Regions from separate parts of the Homo sapiens genome. Here region 1 is linked to region 2. Evidence: promoter capture Hi-C in 16 types of primary human blood cells and fetal thymus (Javierre and others, 2016). All regions are on one chromosome and are shown on one strand. Each heading gives the region's core, a stretch centred on a gene start or on the middle of the fragment in contact. The rest is flanking DNA. Distances are from core to core; before and after follow the strand shown. Region 1 overlaps WSB2 (WD repeat and SOCS box containing 2). Region 2 holds the start of ACTR6 (actin related protein 6).

Evidence for each region. Contacts are between HindIII fragments. The CHiCAGO score rates a contact against its expected background, and 5 or more counts as called.
Region 1: a contact is called between a fragment that was not itself captured here and the fragment with the promoter of ACTR6 in region 2, in 1 of 17 cell types (non-activated CD4 T cells). The highest score is 7.6, in non-activated CD4 T cells.

Annotation. Positions count from the first base shown.
Region 1 is chr12:118,054,609-118,060,683 of GRCh38, reverse strand. The region is part of intron 1 of WSB2 (WD repeat and SOCS box containing 2); the gene reads left to right. Among named protein-coding and RNA genes, the nearest start is that of WSB2, 3.5 kb to the left of the region's middle. RefSeq lists a silencer at 46-95. The HindIII fragment of the contact is 1,742 bases long and covers 702-2,443 here.
Region 2 is chr12:100,197,720-100,203,625 of GRCh38, reverse strand. It overlaps ACTR6 (actin related protein 6), which reads right to left and starts at 2,811. Exons shown (of 11, transcript NM_022496.5): 1 at 2,707-2,811. The coding sequence starts at 2,774. RefSeq lists enhancers at 639-698, 330-1,015, 1,016-1,703, 2,548-2,747, 2,721-3,015 and a silencer at 3,508-3,867. The HindIII fragment of the contact is 11,223 bases long and covers 1,230-5,906 here.

The DNA of each region.
Region 1 (6,075 bases), core at 323-2,822, about 18 Mb before region 2:
GCCCCTGGGTACCCAGGTGCCAGGGGACGCACTTGCATGTCTGGATGGGAGTCACCTCTGTCCCTCACAAGCTGTGTGATCGTGACAGTGGACAAGCCACTGAACCACCGCCACCCACGTCTCAGTTTTGATCTGCAAAATGGGATAATCCTAGTACCTTCCTCGGAGGGTGGCTGGGACCCGGTAAAAATGGGGTCTGGGGTCTGGGTTCCCTATTGAAACAATCTATTCCCAGCCTCTCCCACTGGAGATTAAGTCAGTGGAGGTGGGGCGGGACTGGAGACGCTGATCCCTGGTGACATGTATGATCAGGCAAATTTAGGATACACTGATGGGTGGGGACCTTGCCTCTATTCTTGTTAACTGCCATCCCCATCAGAAGACAGCGTGGAAGTCAGAGGATATTGGATATACCTCAAGCCAGCCCAGATGAACATAAAATCTCAGTGGGAAAGGTGTGTCTCTTATGCAAGGGGAAAAAAACCCCAAGACGCATGCACGCCTTGGCCCTCTCCCCTCCAACGACCTTCCCTCGGAACCCCACTTGGGATAGATTTAGAATTGATTCCGGGAGTCCCAGGTCTTGAAGGACCCGAGTTTAAATGTAATTTCCTTAGGAGAAATTTTCAGAGCAGGTTCAAGGCCTAGGGCTCAGAATTTGTTCCAGAACTTCATGGTAATCTTGCAGCCAAGTTCAAGCTTCATCCTGGTCTGGAGGGTTCTGATTGCTGATGGCTTGTTACTGTGGGTGGGAAGGTTGAAATCTGGGTATTCCCTGGGGTGGTGTTACTTTTTAATTTAGGAAATGACATTTCTTTGTTTGCTGAAGTCAGGCATTGAGTTAAAGGCAGCTCTCTCTCCTTCCCATCTAGATAAGGGCTTTCTTTTCAGTGAGTGTTACCCGTAGAATTCTTTTTAAAAGGGCCCCTACTGTTTGTGTAGATCCTATGTGAATCTTTTTATAGCTTCCGTTTGATTTCCATTGCCTCCTTACAGTTCAATCTGAAAGCAATCTGTAGCTAGCCTGCCTTTTTAACAGAAATCTGTTTCCAGTTCTGGGGTTTTCCTAAAGATTGACAACTTCGTTTTGAGGGTGTGGGCAGGGTTGTTGAGAGCTGCCAAGTTACTGTACAAAAAAGGCCAGAGTTTTAACTTATTTTCAAATGGAATAAAGCCCATTGTAAAGGAAATACAATGGGCAACAGTTGAAATCTTCAGAGCAATGGTTAGACTTCACTTATTCATTCAGCAAATATTTGTTGAACGTCTACTATGTGCCAGGCACCCTCTAGGCCAGCCCCGACCAACAGAAGTCTAATGTGAGCCACGTATGTAATTTAAAATGTTCAAGTAGCCACATTAAAAAAAAGAAAAAAGAACTAGGTGACAATTTAAAAACTCTTTCAATACAACATGTCTAAAATATTCCTGCTACATGTAATCAAATAAATTGTAATGTAATGTTTTAGATTTTTTTTTGTGCTAAGTGTTCAAAACGTGTTGTGTATTTTTTACTTACAGCCCATCTGAATTCTGACTTGCCACATTTCAAGTGGTTGGTAACCACATGTGATTTCCCTATTAGACAGTGTAGCCCAATAGCAGTGAACTGGCAAGTTTGGGTGGGTTCAGAAAGAGACAGACAATAAATACGTAAAAATGACAGGCAATCAAGAAAATATCAACCAAATGCGCCGGGGTGGCTCACGTCTGTAATCTCAGCACTTTGGGAGGCTGAGGCGGGCAGATCACTTGAGGCCAGGAGTTCGAGACCAGCCTCACCAACATAATGAAACTCCGTCTCTACTAAAAATACAAAATTAACCAGGCGTGGTGGTGCATACCTGTAATCCCAGCTACTCAGGAGGCTGAGGCAGGAGAACCGCTTGAACTGGAGAGGTGGAGGTTGCAGTGAACCAAGATCTCGCCATTGCACTCCAGCCTGGGCAACAAGAGTGAAACTCCATCTCAAAAAAAAAAAAAGAAGAAGAAAATATCTAAGTGATGGTTATAAAGAAAATCAAATGGTTAAAGGAAAGTGAATGGTGCCAGGCGCAGTGGCCCAGCAGTTTGGGAGGCCAACTTGGGTAGATCACTTGAGCTCAGGAGTTTGAGACCAGTCTAGGCAGCATGGCAAAACCCCATCTCTGCAAAAAATACCGAACTATAGGCGCGTGCATGGTAGAATGTGCCTGTAGTCCCAGCTACTGGGGAGGCTGAGATGGGAGGATCATCTGAGCCTGGGGAGGTCGAGGTTGCAGTGAGCCGTGATGGTGCTACTGCATTCCAGCCTGGGCAACAGAGCAAGACCCTGTCTCAAAAAAAATAAAAAATAAAAAAGGAAAGTGTATGGTCGCTTTAGATAGTGAGGCCAGGATGGTCTCTGAGAAGGTGACATGAGGACCAATCCCTGAATGATAAGATGGAGCAACTGAGGAAAGCTTTTGAGGCCGGTGGAATATCTAATGTACATGTCCTGATACAGGAAAAATCACCTAGCTTCCTGCTGGCTGGGGTCATAGCTTTCATCTCTGTGTTAAGGCTAACTGCTTTGCCTAGAAGAGGCTTATAATATATACCTTTCCATTCAGCCTGATTGTCCAAACACATCCCATTGTTTAATTAGAACACCCTGATCCAGGGCCAGGTGCAATGGCTCATGCCTGCAGGAGAATCGCTTGAGCTCAGGAGATCAAAACCAGCTTGGTCAACATAGCCAGACCCCCATCTCTACTAAAAATTTAATTTAAAAAAAAAAAAAATGCTGAGTGTGGTGGTACGCCCCCGTAGCCCGATACACAGGAGGCTGAGGCGGGAGGATCACTTGAATCTGGGTGGGAGATTGAGGCTGCAGTGAGCTGTGATTCAGCCACTGCACCCCAGCCTGGGTCTCAAAAAAAAAAAAAACCCAAATATATATATGAATATGATATACTTGAAATTTGCTAAGAGTAGATTTTAAGTGTTCTCACCACACAAAAATAAGTATGTGAGGTAATGCATATATGGTAATGAGCTTGACTGAGCCATTCCACAATGTATACATATATCAAAACATGTTATATTCCATAATATATACAATTTTTATTTATCAGTTTAAAAAAGAAGAGGCTGGACGCGGTGACTCACGCCTGCAATCCCAGCACTTTGGGAGGCCGAGGTGGGCAGATCACCTGAGGTCAGGAGTTCGAGACCAGCCTGGCCAAAATGGTGAAACCCCATCTCTACTAAAAATACAAAAATTAGCCAGGTGTGGTGGCGCATGCCTGTAATTCTAGCTACTCGGGAGGCTGAGGCAGGAGAATCACTTGAACCCAGGGGGCGGAGGTTGCAATGAGCCGAGATGGCGCCACTGCACTCCAGCCTGGGCAGCAGAGTGAGACTCTGTCTCAAAAAAAAAAGGAGAAAACAAAGAAACCCTGATTCATAGGCCTTTTCACCAAGAAGGATCTACAAGTACCATACCAGTTGAAGCTAGATACCCCACCCCCAGCTCTGTTTTTGTTTGTTTGTTTTGTTTTTAAGTTCTGCACTAATTAGGGCTTTCTCTCCGTGTAGCCAAGTTTAGTTTGGGCCCAGACTCCAAGAGACAGGAGTCACTGGGTTTGTTCTTCTTTTAGCTCCTGGATTCCTGAACCTGAAATAGCAAGAGATTAAATCCCTAAATCACAGAAATAGAGTGTGAATTCTGAGTAGGGCTTGTGTTTAAGAAGCATTTCATGTGAAATGTTTGGCATAAGCATCATCAGAGTTTAAGGGGCTTTATTTATTTTTTATTTTTTGGGGACAGAGTCTTGCTCTGTCACCCAGGCTGGAGTACAGTGGTGCAATCTTGGCTCACTGCAACCTGCACCTCCCGGGTTCAAGTGATTCTCCTGCCTCAGCCTCCCGAGTAGCTGCGACTACAGGCGCCCGCCACTATGCCCGGCTAATTTTTGTATTTTAAGTAGAGACGGGGTTTCACCACGTTGGCCAGGCTGGTCTTGAACTCCTGGCCCCAAGTGACCTGCCTGCCTCGGCCTCCCAAAGTGTTGGGATTACAAGCATGAGCTACCATGCCTGGCCAGCTTTATGTTACTTTTTTGTTTAAAGAGTTATACCATATGTATTTATTAGACAAATATTTACTCACTGCCTGCCCTCCACCAGGAACTCTGCCAGCTCTGGGGATAAATATACAAAGTTCTTGCTCCCTGGAGTTGATATCCTAGTGGAGGGGAGACAGATGGCGATCAAATGGTGATAGAGCTGTAAAGAAAATAAAGTGAGGGGTTGTGAAGGAGATTGACTAGGGGTCAGAAGAGTTCTCTAAGCAGTTGTCATTTGAGCCAGACCTGAATAAGAGTAGATGCCAGCCGAGGAGAGGCATTCCAGGTGAAGGGCATGGTTGGTGCAAAGGCCTAGGGTCAGAACTAATTGAGCATTGGCAGAGGGTAGAGAGAAGGGCAATGTGTTGGAGCCAGGGGCAGGGAGAGAAGTACAAGCCCAGGGAAGTTCAGATTATGCTGGATTTTGAGGGCAGGGTGAGGAGCTAGAGTTTTATTCTAACAGTGTTTGAAACTGACCACTCTGGAGGCAAGGAGAACCGATGGTGCGGGGCTAGAGGGGAAGCCGGGAGAGCAGCTGGAAGGTTGCCTACTGGGCCAGGCGGGAGATGATGCTGCATAGATGAGAGTAGAGATGGAGAGGGGTTAGATTTGGCAAGTCTTTTGTAAACAGACTTGATAGAACTTGCTAATGGATTTGGTTTGGGAGATTTAAAAAAAAAAAAACAGACGTGGTGGTTTACACCTGTAATCCCAGCACTTTGGGAGTCCGAGGTGGGCGGATTGCTTCAGTCTAGGAGTTTGAGACCAGCCTGGCCAAGATAGCAAAAACCTGTCTCTACTAAAAATACAAAAATTAGCTGGGTGTGGTGGTGCACGCCTGTAATCCCAGCTTCTTGGAAGGCTGAGGCATAAGAATTTCTTGAACCCAGGAGGCCGAGGTTGCAGTGAGCCGAGATTGTGCCATTGCAGTCCAGCCTGGGTGACAGAGTGAGACTCCATCTCAAAAAAAAAAAAAAAAAAAAAAAAAGGATAATGTAGAGGAAGTGAACCAATTGTGAATGTTATCAGGATGGAAAAAAAAAAGACATTTTCATCCTGGTCATTTGATCCGGAATTCCTGGTCTCAAGCAATTCTTCCACCTCTGCCTCCCAGAGCACTGGGATTACAGGCATGAGCCACTACCCCAGGCCATCCAGGTCATTTGAAAATGTTTCTCTAGATCAGTCAATGTCATTTAATACTTGACTGCATCTGGGTTTCTCAGCCTTGGCATTGTTGACATTTTGGGCCAGATGATTCTTTGCTGGGGGCTGTCCTGTGCGCTGTAGAGTGTTGAGCAGCATCCCTGGCCTCCACCCACTAGATGGCAGTAGTAGCAACTCCAGTTGTGACAACCAAAAATGTTACTGCCAAATGTCCTTAAGGGGCAAACTAGCCCCCAGTTGAGAACCCTGGGTCTATAGAAATAGCTATACACATGTGATTGTATAAATGAAACTGTCACACATACAAACATACAGATTTCTAGGAGGATTTACCTGGGTCTATACAAATAGCTATTTACTCAGACCATATATATAAAAATATATTTCTTTCTTTTTTCTTTTTTTTTTTTTTTAAAGAGATGGAGTCTTACCATGTTGACCAGGCTGGTCTTGAACTCCTGGCCTCAAGCTATCATCCCATCTCGGCCTACCAAAGTGCTAGGATTATAGGCGTGAGCCACCGTGCCTGGCCTAGACCTAATACATTAAACCCAAATTTACACATAGAACCTCTGAGAATGAATAGTCTCTTTACAAAGGCTTGATATGATTTATTAACATTCTATTTAAAGACAGAAACTTCAGGAACACACACCTATTTTATATAACAAGATATACCTATGTTATTATTTTCCTATAAATGCATATACTAGAATTATTATTATTATTATTATTATTATTATTATTTTTTGAGACAGAGTTTCACTCTTGTTGCCCAGGCTGGAGTGCAATGACACCATCTCAGCTCACCGCAACCTCT
Region 2 (5,906 bases), core at 1,562-4,061:
TGGCCATAAAAATTAAGTTTCCAGCCGGGAGCAGTGGCTCACAGCATGTAATCCCAGCACTTTGGAAGGCGGAGGCGGGCGGATCATGAGGTCAGGAGTTTAAGACCAGCCTGGCCAACATGGTAAAACCCCATCTCTACTAAAAAATATAAAAATTAGCTGGGCATGGTGGTGCATGCCTGTAATCCCACCTACTGGGGAGGCTGAGGCAGGAGAATTGCTTGAACCCAGGAGGCGGAGGTTGCAGTGAGCAGAGATTGTGCCACTGCACTCCAGCCTGGGCGACAGAGCAAGACTCTGTCTCAAAAAAATAAAATAAATTAAGTTCCCATGAAGCCAAAGATCTTCAATCAGCAAGATGCTATAGGGCAGGGATCCCCAACCGCAGGGCTTGTGGTCCGGTACCTGTCTGTGGTCTGTTGGGAACCAAGCCTTCATAGCAAGAGGTGAGCACCAGGGTGGGGAAGGAGGGTGGGGCCGTAAGCATTAACACCTAAATTGCACTTCCTGTCAGATCAGCCATAGCATTAGATTCTCATAGGAGCAGGAACCCTATTTTGAACTGTGCATGCAAGGGATATAGTTTGTGCACTTTTTTTGTGAGAATCTAATACCTGAGAATAGTTTCATTTCAAAACCATCGCCCACACTCATACCCCCAACCACACGTTAAAATTGTCTTCCACGAAACCAGTCCTTGGTGCCAAAAAGGTTGGAGACTGCTGCTGCTACAGGGTACAGAAGTAGCAACTTTTTTTTTTTTTTTTTGAGACCGAGTCTCGCTTTGTCGCCCCAGGCTGGAGTGCAGTGGCGTGATCTCGGCTCACTGCAAGCTCCGCCTCCCAGGCCCACGCCATTCTCCCGCCTCAGCCTCCCAGGTAGCTGGGACTACAGGCGCCTGCCACTACGCCCGGCTAATTTTTGTATTTTTAGTAGAGACAGGGTTTCGCCGTGTTAGCCATGATGCTCTGGATCTCCTAACCTCGTGATCCACCCACCTGGGCCTCTTGCTGCTTGCCATGAGCTTACAATCTGGTTTGGAAGACAAACTAGAGCCATTATTAATTATACACACATGTATGCATACAAATGTGTCTGTATGTGTATACGAGATGACACTGGGATAATACTGTAAAAAAATGTTTTACACCTGCTTATTTCACTTATAATACTGTCAGCATTTTCTCTACATGTTTAAATGTTCTTTGAAGACATAATTTTAAGAAGCTTGAATTTGTTATCAGTCTCAGGTTGTATTTTGGTGTATTTAGCCAATATGCTATTCCTGATTATTTAGCTTCCTTCCCATTTTTTGGCTGCCTGTATACGATGACTATGAATAATACAAAGCACTTCTAATTAATTCTCTAGGTAATAACAGAATTGCTGTGTCATGGCCCGGTGCGGTGGCTCACACCTGTAATCCCAGCACTTTAGGAGGCTGAAGCAGGCAGATCACGAGGTCAGGAATTCCAGACCAGCATGGCCAAAATGGTGAAACCCCCGTCTCTACTAAAAATACAAAACTTAGCCAGGCGTGGTGGTGCGCAACTGTAGTCCCAGCTACTTGGGAGGCTGAGGCATGAGAATGGCTTGAACCCGGGAGGCAGAGGTTGCAGCGAGCCGAGATCGTGCCACTGCACTCCAGCCTGGACAAGAGAGCCAGACTCCCTCTCCAAAAAAAAAAAAAAAAATTGCTTTGTCAGCTGGGTGTAGGGCTCACGCCCCTAATACCAGCACTTTGGGAGGCCAACGCGGGTAGACTGCTTGAGGCCAGGGGCTCGAGACCGGCCTGGCCAACATGATGAAACCCCGTCTCTAACAAAAATACAAAAAATTCGCTGGGAGTGGTGGTGCACGCCTATAATCCCAGCTACTCTGGAGGCTGAGGCGGGAGAATCACTTGAATTCAGGCTGCAGTGAGCTGAGATCGCACCACGGCACTCCAGCCTCGGTGACAATGATAATGATACACATTGCCAAAACGTTTTCCAGAAAGATTGTAACAATTTACATTCCTACTCAGTTTGATTTCCCTCTTTCATTTCTGTTTCAAAAGAAATGAAAAAGAAGGAAAGGAGGGAGGAAGGAAAGAATTTTTTTTAATGCTCTGTTAATTTGATAAAGGAAAGGCGTGTCTTTAGGTTTGCTTATTTATTCAAACATATATTTTATGACTATACATGTTATGAATGCCATTGTATTAACAGTACTTCTGTTTAATTGACCTTACCAACTAGGTCGGCCAGTAGGCCAAAGTCTTCAAAGCCTCTAGATCCTAAGACCGTGATTTTTAGACTTTTGGAGGGTCATAGAACCCTTTGAGAATCTAATGAAACCTATAATCTTGTACCCAGGAAAATCCGCATACACCCAAACACCGTGCCCATAGTTTCCAAAGGCTGATGAACTTTACGGACCCTTCTGTCAGGAACGCATCTCTATAAGCCTATTTTCTTTGGCTATTTCCTGTTACGAAATAAAACATATATCCCACTTCCGGGGCCTCGCAGCCCAAAACTAAAACCAAAATCAATTTCAATTCAAAGCATCACAATCACCCACCCAGCTCCAACCAGGGAATCCCTCTGGCTAAGTCAGGGCCGCGCGGGGGTGTCTGCAGTTCATTGATGTCCGGAGATGAAACGTAGCACATGAAACCACTAGGCGTATATATCTTGTCCCTCGGAGAAAGAAAGTACTTACGACACATTTTCATGGCTGTAACCGATTTTGGCGTTGTAAGCTCCATTATCCAGCACTAAGGTCGTCATCTCACCACCAACCACACCGCAGCCGTAGTTGTTTTCCCTTTCCGACCCCTCTGCTCGAGCTTTTTCCGGTACTCTATGGTTTGTTGGGCGGAGCGTTAGGACGCGCCTCTGGTCACCTTAGCAACGGAGGACGCCGGAAGTCGGAGATGCTAAGCAGCACCGAATGTTAGGGGCTGTGCTTCCAAACTTAACCTGTTTATGTGGTGGCGAGATTTGACTACTATGTGCTTTCTCGCTCATTTCGTATTTGTTTTTAACTACGCAGATTAATTCGCGCAAGTTTTTTCTAATCCTGTAGAGAACCGGCTGCGTGTGTGTGTGTGTGTGTGTGTGTGTGTGTGTCTTCCAATCGCATTCTTCAGACGGTGACATTCTTTGAAGAAAAAAGTGCAAAACTTGCTCTTGGACTCACATTCATACTCTCCTCTTCCCCAGCCCACTTGCTCTTCAGGACGAAGCTGAGTGAGTCTTTCTCATCCAAAAAAGGCTTTTGGGCCGGACGCGGTGGCTCACGCCTGTAATCCCAGCACTTTAGGAGACCAAGGCAAGCAGATCACTTGAGGTCAGGAGCTTGAGACCAGCCTGACCAACACGGCGAAACCCCGTCTCTATTAAAAATACAAAAAGTAGCCGGGCGAGGTGGCGGGCGCCTGTAATCCCAAGTACTCGGGAGGCTGAGGCGGGAGAATTGCTTGAACCGGGGAGGCGGAGGTTGCAGTGAGCCGAGATGGCTCCACTACACTCCAGCCTGGGCGACAGAGCGAGACTCCGGCAGGGCGGGGACTTGGCAGGTGCGGGAGGCAGGACCTGGCTTCCGGGGCGTCGCGGGGGCAACGGCCAGCGGGCGGGGGCAAGGGCCAGCGGGCTAGGACAACTGCCAACGGGCTTGGAGGGGGGCGTTCTACAAATTCCAGGCCACTTTGAGCGCCTGAGAGAGGAGCGGGGCGGCGGGAAGGGGGCACCGCGGGGGCAGGGAGCGCAGCAGCCGCAGCGCGAAGGCGCGGGGGCCGGGGAACAAACGGTTGGCGCGCAGGCAGCCATACCGGGGCCGGAACCCGGGCAGAGGAGGGCAGCGACGGCGATGGGGAGGCTGCAGAGCCCGGGGCGGGTACCGCGCGGGAACCAGCGCGACTGCGTGGCTACCGCAGCCGTCGGTTCGTGTTGGACGGGCGCCGCTGCTGCCTCTGCTACTTCAAGAACCCCCACGACCCGCTGCCCCTCGGCCACCTGGACATAGCAGAAGCCTGCTTCAGCTACCAGCGCGCCGACGAGGCGGCGGAGCAGCCTGCGCACTTCCAGGTGCGCAGCGCGGGAGCCGCCACGGTGCTTGAGGTGGGAACTCGCGCCCTGCAAGCGCCTGGGCCCTTCTGTCGGCGCTCCTTGCCTCCCCTGGGGGCCTGCCCCATCCACCCTCCTTTCTCCAAGGCCTCCTCGCACCCTGCCAACGTCGGCCTGCCTTTCCCCACTTCTCCACATCCCGTCCTCGTTCCTATCTCCTCCCCTCCACCTGGGCTTAGGCCCGGGTGGCTGGGGCTACCCAGCCCAGTCTCCTTCCTCAGACACTTTGACCCATTATCTCCCTCTGCTCCTTCCCTCTGACCCCTCTCTAGTGTCTTCTCACCCCCAGCATCCCGTGGATGTCCGGTGCAGCCCTCCCAAGCATTCATAACCGTAGGCTTCTGCCCCAGGGGCCTCCTTTAGAACTCTGCTAGGACCTTGGTACATCAGTTAACCGCTCTGCCCTTCAGCGTCCTCTAAAATGAGATAGCAGTAGTATCTATATCATGGGGTGTTGAGATTAAACTAATTATACTCTAAACTGCTCAGTAAATGTTAGTACATTTATTTTATTTTTATTTATTTGTTCTTTTTGCCATAGGATCTCGCTCTGTTGTGCAGACTGAAGTGCAGTGGTGTGATTTCAGCTAACTGCAGCCTCATGCCTGGGCTCAAGTGATCCTCCCACCTGAGCCTCCCACCTGAGCCTCCCAAGTATCCGGGACCACAGGTGCAGGCCCACGCCTGGCTAATTTAAAAAATGGTTTTTGTGTGTGTGTGTGTGTGTGTGTGTGTGTGTGTGTGTGTGTGTGTGTGTAGATGGGGGTCTCGCTATGTTGCTCAGGCTAGTCTCGAACTCCTGGGCTCAAACCATCCTCCCCACCCATCTTCCTGGGATTCCAGACGTGAGCCACAGTGCATTTAGCACTATAGACAAAAAGAGTCAGAAATGGCAGGGCCCTTAGAGATATTCCACTACATTTCCTCCGAGAGTGGGCAGGGATGCTCCAGCTAAGGTCACACAGCCAGTAAGTGGCAGACCCTCTTTTCTTGCTCCTTGTTTTGTCCAGGAGAGGTGGGAGGGGGTCACTTCAGCCAGTTAGGCCTTGCTCTTTGAGGCTCTTTTAATCCTCCAGCGAAGAGACATAATGGGAAAAATAATGCAGAAGCAGGAGAGTAGAGTGAGGAGTCCTGGTGCTGAGAGGCCTCCCCTTTCCTTGGGAGTCCTTAGCGGGCTAGACTCTGTCACCTCCGAGGGGTCCACCTGCTTCGAGCACATAGAGGGATCTGGGCCCAGGCCTGGAGCCCAGTATCCTTTCTCCAGGCTGTGCTCCCTGCCTGGCTCCTGTGAACCTCCACCTTCTCTCTCATTCCTCTTCCGCGCTGCAGGCTCGGCTTTCTCCAGGGCAGCAGGGTTGGGCTGGGATGTATGAAAGCACTCTCAAAGCTGGCCACGCGGAGAGCAGAGTAGGCAGGCTCTTGGCCTTATGAGCACAGGACTGTTCCTCAGACCCCCAGAGCTGCTAACAGCTGCAGCTGCCCCCGGAGATGTTCTCAGAGCTTTGTCGACTCAGCTTTTGCCAATTCAAGCAGGATCTGATTCCCATGTTCTCTCGGGCTCCTCTGTCCTGTCTGTAAGTGGGTGCAGACAGCCTGTTTCCCCGAAGGAAGCCAGCCAGGGTTGCAGTCCTACTCAGGCTTACTTTGCGCCTGTATAAACATGGGAATGACCCCGGTGGAAGACCTTTGCCAAAGGTAGAGGCTCTTCCTCAGTGTATACATGGACTGTCCCCATGTCAGGTGAATTTCCTGTAGGATATTTGTTAACAAAGAAAATAGAGCGTCATGTTTCAG